Regions from separate parts of the Homo sapiens genome. Here all the other regions are linked to region 3. The links are contacts of gene promoters, found by promoter capture Hi-C in blood cells and fetal thymus (Javierre and others, 2016). All regions are on one chromosome and are shown on one strand. The core of a region is centred on a gene start or on the middle of the fragment in contact, and the rest is flanking DNA. Distances in the headings are between cores, read along the strand shown. Region 1 overlaps ADCY8 (adenylate cyclase 8). Region 2 overlaps LOC105375760 (a long non-coding RNA gene). Region 3 holds the start of OC90 (otoconin 90).

The links. The method cuts DNA at HindIII sites, captures the fragments that hold promoters and counts their contacts. A CHiCAGO score of 5 or more calls a contact.
Region 1: a fragment that was not itself captured here is called in contact with the fragment with the promoter of OC90 in region 3 in 1 of 17 cell types (M1 macrophages); the score reaches 5.0 in M1 macrophages.
Region 2: a contact is called between a fragment that was not itself captured here and the fragment with the promoter of OC90 in region 3, in 2 of 17 cell types (endothelial precursors and M0 macrophages). The highest score is 6.7, in endothelial precursors.

What each region holds. Positions count from the first base shown.
Region 1 is chr8:130,975,178-130,978,337 of GRCh38, forward strand. All of the region lies in intron 2 of ADCY8 (adenylate cyclase 8), which reads right to left. Among named protein-coding and RNA genes, the nearest start is that of ADCY8, 64 kb to the right of the region's middle. The HindIII fragment of the contact is 941 bases long and covers 1,119-2,059 here.
Region 2 is chr8:131,050,569-131,053,655 of GRCh38, forward strand. All of the region lies in intron 1 of LOC105375760 (a long non-coding RNA gene), which reads left to right. Among named protein-coding and RNA genes, the nearest start is that of ADCY8, 11 kb to the left of the region's middle. The HindIII fragment of the contact is 1,032 bases long and covers 787-1,818 here.
Region 3 is chr8:132,058,120-132,061,225 of GRCh38, forward strand. OC90 (otoconin 90) reads right to left here and starts at 1,263. Exons shown (of 14, transcript NM_001080399.3): 1 at 1,222-1,263. RefSeq lists enhancers at 1-333, 334-910. The HindIII fragment of the contact is 6,980 bases long and covers 1-3,106 here.

The DNA of each region.
Region 1 (3,160 bases), core at 339-2,838, 1.1 Mb before region 3:
TCTCAAAAATCCTTTCTAAAATTCATCAGGCCCTTAGAAATTATGTACACCCTGGAAGTTCTTCTGACCATATATTTGCAAATATTGCACCACATATCTCTCTACCATCCCACTCCATACCCAAAGAACATGCGTACTTGACTCTGTTTGACTATTCAATTCAATTCCCTTCAATAAACAGTAGTCATGCTGACATGTGACAGGCTCTGAATGTGCTGCTGGGAGTTAAATATGTCACCATCCTGAAGAACACACAGTCTGTGGGGAATGCAGGAGCAAGAAACTCCCAACCACAAAACAAGGTCCATTGTAGAAGCAAGAACCTTGAACTCTGGGGACACTAAGAGTGACACGGGGGATGGGGAAAGGGTACCAGTTGGTGTCAGTCCCTAAATTAGTTAAACCACAAGCATTTATTTCAAATAAGTGTCACAGTGATTCAGTGAGGCAGGCTGGATTATTCCAATGTAATAGATAAGAAAGCTGAAGCACGTAAAGTTACATTCTTTGCTCAATTTTATACAGCTAATGAGATGCAAAGCTGGTGTTCCAAACCAGGCCTGTCTAACTCTATTGTCTATGTAGCCATTAAGTTGTCTATAAATACAGTTAACAGTCTCTCAGAAATTCTTCTGCTGAAAGAATTCTAACATTGAAAGATCAGAAGTCACAGATAGATTGGGGTGTTGTTAGCTATTGGACAATTCCCAGTGACACTGCCCGCAATTCTGAAAATTACTTTTATACTATAGTAACTTCAAAATCCCTTAAAATGCATGCTATAATTTGTGATGGGGGCAGGATATTTTATAAAAGCTACTAAAATATTACTTCAGTATGCTAAAAAAAACCACCACCTATCTTTTGGAAAACTGCAAATGGTGGTGTGGAAAAGACCTTTACATTGTAAGTTTCCTCACCACCCCTCCAAGAACATTCTGTCTACTCCAAGGGGATAGCAGTAGTGATTGATCCAGGTTTTGTGGGTCCTGAGACTTAAATAACTTGGGGGTGGGGTAAGAGAATACTCTTTAAGAAAAACTGTGAAAATCATAACTGCGAACTTGCTAGGGCCCCTCTGAAGGCCTTAGAAGGGGCTTGCGAGTGAAGGCCTTTGAAGCTTAACCATCATTGGCTTGATGATAAGGGCACTTGTGATAAAGCAAACTGTATTTCATTATTGTAGGTGTCGGAAGATGCTAACACCTTGGATAACTACCTAACCCATGACTGCATGTGGACAGATAAAGCAAATTATTGCCTATTTCAAGTATTAATATGCGACAGTTTCCATAGATACCTGATTATCCCTATGCCATAATACATGCTTCAGAGGTTATTTGAACACCATCATCTACATAGCGAATTCTTAGTTTCTAATTCAATTTTTATAATTCTGAAGTCATTTCTTATTCATTGATATATATTTTATGCACTCATCTACTGAAATTTAAAAAATATTGAATTTATATTTTATCTTGATGTGGAACTGAGCTTTTCACATTTATTCAAGAAGATCATATTTTAATATCAATTGGAGGAGCTAATTTGGAAGTTGAAAGATAATTAAAATTCAAATAAGAAGCCCTTTGCTTGCAGCATTCTCAGGAGATTATATATCCTCCTCAAATATGATATTTAAAAAATTTTAAAAATAATTTACATTTGTAGTGTGTTTACAGTTAAAAATTACCTTTACATGGAGCTCATTTTATATCAAAACAACCTTGGTAGGAATTATTAAAATGGTTTTACAAGTGAGGAGACTGAAGCTCAGAGATTACCTTGCTCAAGGCCAACCTGTCCCATCGCGCAGGACATCAACCCTGTATTCTGCTTCTGCTGCATCTCAGCTATCAAGAAAACATGACCATCCAGGCCAGTGCTCCGAAACAGAAATTGATCAGAGGCTGGAAGTCTCCACCCCTTTACTACTATATCTCCTCACATTGCCTGGAGAAACTGCCCGGGTCGGGTGTGAGCGCATGGTGTTTGCAACCTCCTCCTCAGAGCCTTTAATAAATGGAATTGTCACTTTTCACACCAGCATTTAACTGTAAGCTTGTGTCAATTTTCTGCTCATGAGAAGAACAATGATCAATCCAACCTTTCTTACTTATACTCGAAAAACAGAAAATATCAGAATCAACAGAGCTTACTTGGACAATACTTGTAATACTCATTCATTCAGTGGGTCTCTTGTTTTTTGAATCATCCATAAGGTGTAATCCAACCTTCTTTGCTTTTTTCCTCTTTTCATACTCCAAACATCTCTATTGGTTTCTCCCTTTACTTATTTAAAATCAATTCAGTCTCTGGTAGTCTGAGGATTTTGCTTTCTGTGGAATGTATATATTTCACAATTAAAGAAAATGCCTAAAGGAGAGAAGCAATAAATATGGACTACACCACTGCCAGTGAGAGCTCTTATTGGGCACCTACTATGTTTCAAGATTTGCACATGAATTATGTGATTTAATCCTCATAACAATTAATGAGATAGGGATATTTATTACCACTATTCCACAGATGTGTAAATTGAGGCACAGAGAGGTTAGGTACTTGTCCTAGGACACACAGCAAGTAAGTGGCAGCACCCAGATGTGCACACAGGCATCTGGATTCATTAGTGAATTCTCCTTTTCAGGCTCTGTGTTGCAGAATCTGATTTAGAGTTCATCCTTTTCTTGGGTGCAGTGGATCACATGGGGCTGACTCTCGAGTCATAATCTTTTCCATGATTCCATCTAATCTATTGTGAAATATCTTCCACTACTCATTCATGCATCTGACAAACTGTTCTTCAGCAAACGTGTAGTAAGGAATGAGTTAGTGGCAGGCCCTGTGCTCTGCACTGGGGAGAGCAGTGGAGAAGCTTCACTCTGCCTTCACCATGCTTGCAGTCTGCTTGGCTGAGAAACTGAAAATGACTATAATGAAATATTAATTACATTACCATAGAAGTCAGCACAAGGCATCATATGTCCCTTGCATATTCCAAAGAGATTCTGGAATAATTGTGTGAAAACTAAAATGCTTTGAGCTGTTGGGGAATCAGGGGTTGTAAAGATGAAATATTTACATCCCTGTAATTAATATACAAAAGACATGGCTCCCATAAATCTAAATTGCAAATTCAGTTGGACAGTGAGAATGAAGA
Region 2 (3,087 bases), core at 53-2,552, 1.0 Mb before region 3:
CTCTGATTAGAGTGTAAGCTCTTCCAAGACAAGCACCATTCTCTCTTATTTGTCATTCTTTCCCCAGTGCTTGGTAACAGCAGAAGCTCAGTAAACAGTTTTTAATGAATGAGTAAAAAATGACCCAGTCTTGATAACTAACTAACTGAATAATGACTCTGATGTTGGCTAACCATAGAAGCAGAGTTAGCCAGATTAGGAGAAAATTTATACTTATGAGCTAGACCAGAGCAAACAAAATAAGGAAATGAGAGCCTACATCATTGGGAATGTTTCACTGGGCTCTAATTGAGATGCTTCTTCATTGAGTGATCCCTCCTAAGGAAAATGAGACCAGGAATTTAGGCACCTACTATTTATCAGGTGTAGTGCTAGTACTTCACCTGCATTATCTGATTTTATCCTTATAAGAACCGTAGGAAGATACTTTGAATGCATTTGGATGTATCTGGTGTAACTTCCCCACTTAGATCTGAGACGGTTGGACTCTAACTTTTCTCCAAAGACCAGGAGACTATTGACTAGTAACATTTTTGGCTACAAGTTGCAGTATATCTGAATAACTAGCTTAACTAGATGGTTGTTTAGTTTTCTCTAGGTAGGTGGTTGCAAGCAGAGTCAGAGTCTCGAAGGTACTTGGGTGGTAATTTTTATGGGTCTCGTGGTCTTAAGATGGCTACTGTAGGACAAGTCATCACATCTGCATTCAAGTCAGGAAGGAAGGGATGAGGGCAGCACTCTGCCTTCCAGCCTTGAACATCTATCCTGTTTTCATTAGGAAGTAAAAGCTTTTCCCCAAGCCACCTCCTTGGCAGACTCTACTTAGATGTCATTGGAACTGGAACACATGACCATGTAAAACTGCAAGGGAAGCTGCAGAAATGAGAAACAGGATTGATGTGACTGTTTTACCCTTCCAGGTTGACAATGGTGATAAGAGAAATCTATTTGGGACTATAGTTCAGGCAAAGAGAAGAACCAATGTTCAGGTAACAGTTAAACTGTGTTGCAAAAAATCCAGAAACATAAAAACCAAAAACACCCTTTAATTTTCCTTATAGCTCAGTCAAATTATGTATGTGACTGCAAACAGATTTAAAGTGCTCAAATATTTGAAACTTTTCAAAGTGAGCCATATCTATTTTCCTGTGTTGACAATTAATACAACATATAAAATAGGAGATATCAAATAGGAGAGGCTGGTCCCTTTCTTTTCTCCTGGCCTGCTCAGTCTCCCATTTTATTGTATATTCCTCACTAGCAAATATATTAAAAGAAAGATAGCAACAAACACAAACACCATTATCTCTTTGCCCCTTCAATTACTATTCTTGTGCTTTAGTCTTTTAAAAACTTGCCAGTCTTGCTAGACATCCAGAGAACTCTCAGATCTACTGTGTTCGTGTTAACTTTAGTTGGTAAAAGAAGAGGTGGAGGAAAAGAGGTAGCCTGGAAGAGGAGAGAAAAGGAGAGAGGAAAGAAATAAAGAAAGGAAGAGGGAAAGAGAAGGAGAGAGGAAGGGGATGGGGGGATAAAAGTTGGAGCAGGTTTTGAAAAGACCAAGATATAAAAGGGGAAGAGGAAGGAAGAACGGAAGAAACGACTGAGAAAGGCAAAAGAGTGAGAAGGAAGGATGGTACCGTGCAGTTACTCAGTGTGAACCCTGCGCTTTCAAATTCTTTATTGTATTTAATCTGCACAGCAATCCTGCAGGGTAGATATCATTCTTCCCACAATACAGTTGAGGAAAGCAAGCCTCGTGAAGCTCACGCAGTGATTTATTTGGATGATTCAAGAATGGGATCCAGTAACAGCAGAAGCTTTAAAGTTGGTGTGCCTGCCTCCAAATCCCAGGAGAAAGGACACAAGAGACACCAGAAGGTCTGATGAAAACGAATTGAAGGCTGGGAGGAGTCAGGCCAGGAAAGAAAGAATAGGGAGGGATGAGACAGAATAGCCCAAGGTCTGATCCAAGGGACATCTGGTGCTCTTTTGTCTTCATTAAAGCTGTGGTGATTCTTTAATGACTGTGCATACTATTCATCAGATTGATTAATTAGGTTTGAGTGTACTTCTTACAAATCCCAGGAAGGTTGCCAATAAATAGAGTTCATGGCATAGAACCCAGAAGGAGGTCATCTAAGACAGAGCAGAGTTCTTTGGCTTGGTGAGGCTGATGGATCCAAGGCAGGATTTGGTCATGAGTTCTCCATGTGCCCAGAGCCTAAGTTCCCAACTAAACTTATCTAAGAGTTTCCATGGTAAGATGACTTGGAGTGAAGTGATGGCCCTGAATGGGGGTTCCAACATAGGAAGCCCCTTTTCTCCAGGCCCTCAAATTGACAAAGGACCACAAATTTACCATTTGACATTATATCTCCATGAGGTTGTCTAAAAAAATATTCTGTTGATGTGATCTGGTAAAATACAGGAAGTGCCCAGATGAAAACTTGAAGAATGGTGGTGAACTGCTTGGGAGAGATTCCAGGAGAGAATTGCAAATGCCATTTAAGAAATGAAAGGATGCAGCACCCTTGATGGTACAGATAGAAGATGATATTTTCTGGAAAATATGGATACCGATGTTGAGAAGTTATTCTAAAGAGGATCACTTCAAAAGTTTCAGGACTGTATCTCCCAATTTCTCTTACATTTTCCTTTTTACATGTATCCAAGTGTAATATATGATAAAATCTTTATTTGGTTATACCTAAAAAGCTTTTAAAATATGTAGAAAGTTAAAATTCAAAGTGATAAAACATTGCTTCATAGTTTAGTAGAATTTTCAATTTTTTAGTAATGTATAAAATAGTGATGTCGTATTCTAAGAAATACAGTATGTTGTGGTTATAACTAAGCCTTAATTTATGGAAGGAAGAAATGTGGAGACTCATACCCTTTAATTTGATAGGTGAGGTAACAGAGAAGATAAAAGAGTTTCCCACAATCATGACACCAGCTAGAGGCAAAGTTAACACTGGAACCCAGGTCTACTCATTGCAGGACGGGTAAATTGATGTGAGTGGGGTGAACACAGTCGAGGAGTGAGATCTGGCTTTGAATCCTGACTTTTCCCCTTGACAGCTC
Region 3 (3,106 bases), core at 13-2,512:
AAGGAAAGTCAGTGCCAGCTAGAAGGTGCCAGTTAGAAGCACGTGGTCAGCCCTGGGCAACAGTGAGGATGACCCGAATCTGGGGTACGTGCACATTAGGGTACGTGGGTGGGATGGTGTGGGGCTGCTTCTGAAATCCAGTATCCTCCTGTTGGCCAAGTCAGGCGCCCTTGGCTGTGGGGCTGTGTCTACCTGGAGGAAAGACCTCCTTCTCCTAATTTGCCCAAGGAAGTCTCTGGGGCTGTCGTGGCCTCATGGGTCAGTGCTGTCCTTGTGGGCCTGAGAAGGCTCCCGAAGCCTCGCCTTGGTCTGCATGCCAGGTTTGGAGTCCCGGCTCCCCTAGCTGTCTCCCAATGGCCGGTCTCATGGCTGCATAGCCAGTGTCTGAGCCCAAGGCCTTGCTGGTCGGACAGACCTGGGCTGGGGTCAGGGAGTTCAGGCTCTGCCTTTTGCTTGTCGAGTGCCCTGAGCCAGGCACTGAAGATGCCTGGAACTCATTTTCCTGGGCAGCGAAATGCATATAATGGTGTTTTTTCATCAGGGAATCATGAGGGTTAAATCTGATGAGTCTTATAAAGGTAGAACACCATCTCCGGCACTTGCTCAGTGCTCAGTGAGGACTGCCCATAATTAATGCTGATTGTGTTTCCACACCAGGTGCCGTGGGCGGGGTCATTGCCCAGGGCTATGTAGGATCCTCACTAATGTGAAGTGGTGGATTTTTCCCCCGGGTAAATTTGCCAGGTGCTCTCTGTCTGGCATTGCATCTTTTCACAGATCGACTCAGAGCAATTTGGGTTTTCAGCTATATCCTGGAGCAACATCCAGGTCTCAGACAGCCCTGAGAGCATCCCCTACCACCTTATCCTCCATTCATTTATCTCCTCATTTCCCCTCCATTCTTCTCTCCCTTCCTCCCTCTTTCCCTCTCTCCCTCCCTCCCTTCTACCCTCTCTTTCTCCCTCCTTTTCTTCCTTCATCAATTTCTCCTACTTTTCTTCCCTCCCCTCCTTCCTCCTACCCTTTCTGCCTCTTTCCATCTCCCAACCATTTCCCTCCCTCCCTCACTCTTTTCCTCCATCCCTCCCTCTCCCCCTCCTTCTCTTTCTCCCTCCCTTCTTCTCTTCTCCCATTCATTTCCCTCCTTTACTTGCTGTCTTCCTCCCTCCCTCCCTCCCCTGCTCTCTGTCTCCCCAACCATCAGGAATAACAGATGCCTACCGTGAAGGCTCCACTGGAGTGCAGCTGGATGAATGATGCTAGGGTTTGAACAGGTGCAGACTGAGTCCTTTATACCCCAAGGAAAGACCCTTAGCCATGTGATGCCTCTCCCCACTCCTCACATCAAGAAGGAAGCCTTTCATGAATGTTGGCAGGTGGGCTGCCTCTGAAGGGAGGAGGCATCATAATACTATAGCTTGGAACAGGTGAAGGCTCCATATTAAGAAGCCCCATCTTGAGCCTCAGAGGAGACCTCAGGCTCTAATTAGAGAACAATGGGTTCCCTGTTCTACCCCACCTCACCTCAAAGGCTAGGAGGCCCATGGATTATGTCTCAGGGTCATCATGGGAACTCTCGGGGGATGAAAGACTGATGAAAGTCATGTGGGCTCTCCTGCAAGATAAAGGGCTGGCTTTGTCTGGTCTAGTTCATTCTTTAGCAAGAGGATTTCTAGCGTGATTCTTCTTATATGTTCTTGGCCTCAGATCTCGGAATTTGATGCCTCTTTCCTTTAGGGCTTTTCTGCCCAAGCTGTGGGGTAGGGTGAGGTGGGGCTTTATAATCAGACACCCAAGGTTCCTCTGCCAGCCCTGCTACTGAGTAGCAGTGTGACCTTGAGTTTGTCACTGCTCAGCTTTAGCTTCCACATCTGTTAAATGGGCTTAATCCTACTAAGATTTCGAGGCTGAAGAAAGCCATATATAGTGTGTGGTATGGGGGCTCATTAAGTCCTAGTTCTTTTTGTCACTTCCTCATATCGCCTTGTGAAGGGTTTTCTTTCCTGATTTTGAAAGGAGAACTGGCATTTATTGAGTACGTGTAATGTACCACAAGTGTTTTATAGGATTTTGCCCTCATCATCCCTGCAGCAGCCCTTCCATTACTGCTTTCATAATCCTAGGAGCAAGGATTAATTAGCTCCACTTTACAGATGAGAAAAAATGGTGTCGTTGAGGTTGAGGCATTGTAGAAGCTCACGTGTAATGGAAGCATTCTGGAATGCAGGTTAGCCTGGCTGTGAACCCTCTGAGTTGCTCACTCTATGGCCACCTCCTGAAGAAGCAGGACTCCTCAAACGATTAAATCAGGGCACAATTGAGCCTCTATGGAAGAACCCATTGAAGGGCTTCTTCAAATAAGTAATTACTCTCATTCATTGAGGCTTGTGTTTGTAGATCATTAACTATTGTTCAGCATCTCATGTGATTTGAGGAATGAAGATGCATTGTCTGTAATATTTTCTCATTAGCACCAAAGACCCACCATCTCTAAAATGACTAAGCCCGTGGGCATCTATGGCTCAGTGCAGCAAAATCCATCTTTTCAGCATCTCAAGAGCATAGCTGAGATTGTTATTATGCTCAAGAGCATAACTGAGATTGTTATTATGCCTGAGCAATACAAAGGCATAACAATCTACATAGGTATCTTGTTCGAGACATTTCATGGGGTTTTGAGAAGGATCATTTTTTCCCATAGCTTACAACAGAGTATCTTAATCTTAGCACTGTTGACATTTGGGCCAAATTATTCTTTTTTTGTAGGAGTTGTCCCGAGCATTGCAATATCGCAGGTCTCTACTCAGCTGATGCCAGTAGCACTCCCTACCTTGTTGTGACAACCAAAAATGTCTCCAAACATTGCCAAGTGTCCCCTGGGGGCCAAATCACCCCTGATTGAAAACCACTGGCCTTCAATATCCCTGGAACCTTGGCCTTTTACCATTCTGTTGGTGGAATAAAGTGAGAGTGAAGTTTTCACAAGAACCCAGACATAAGAGGATAAAGTCTGTTCTAAATGAGAGTTTAAAATTTTAGATTTAATTATGACAGCACCTAAATGTCTCGTTCACACAAACCCACAGCACTAGTGCACCTGTGCAGA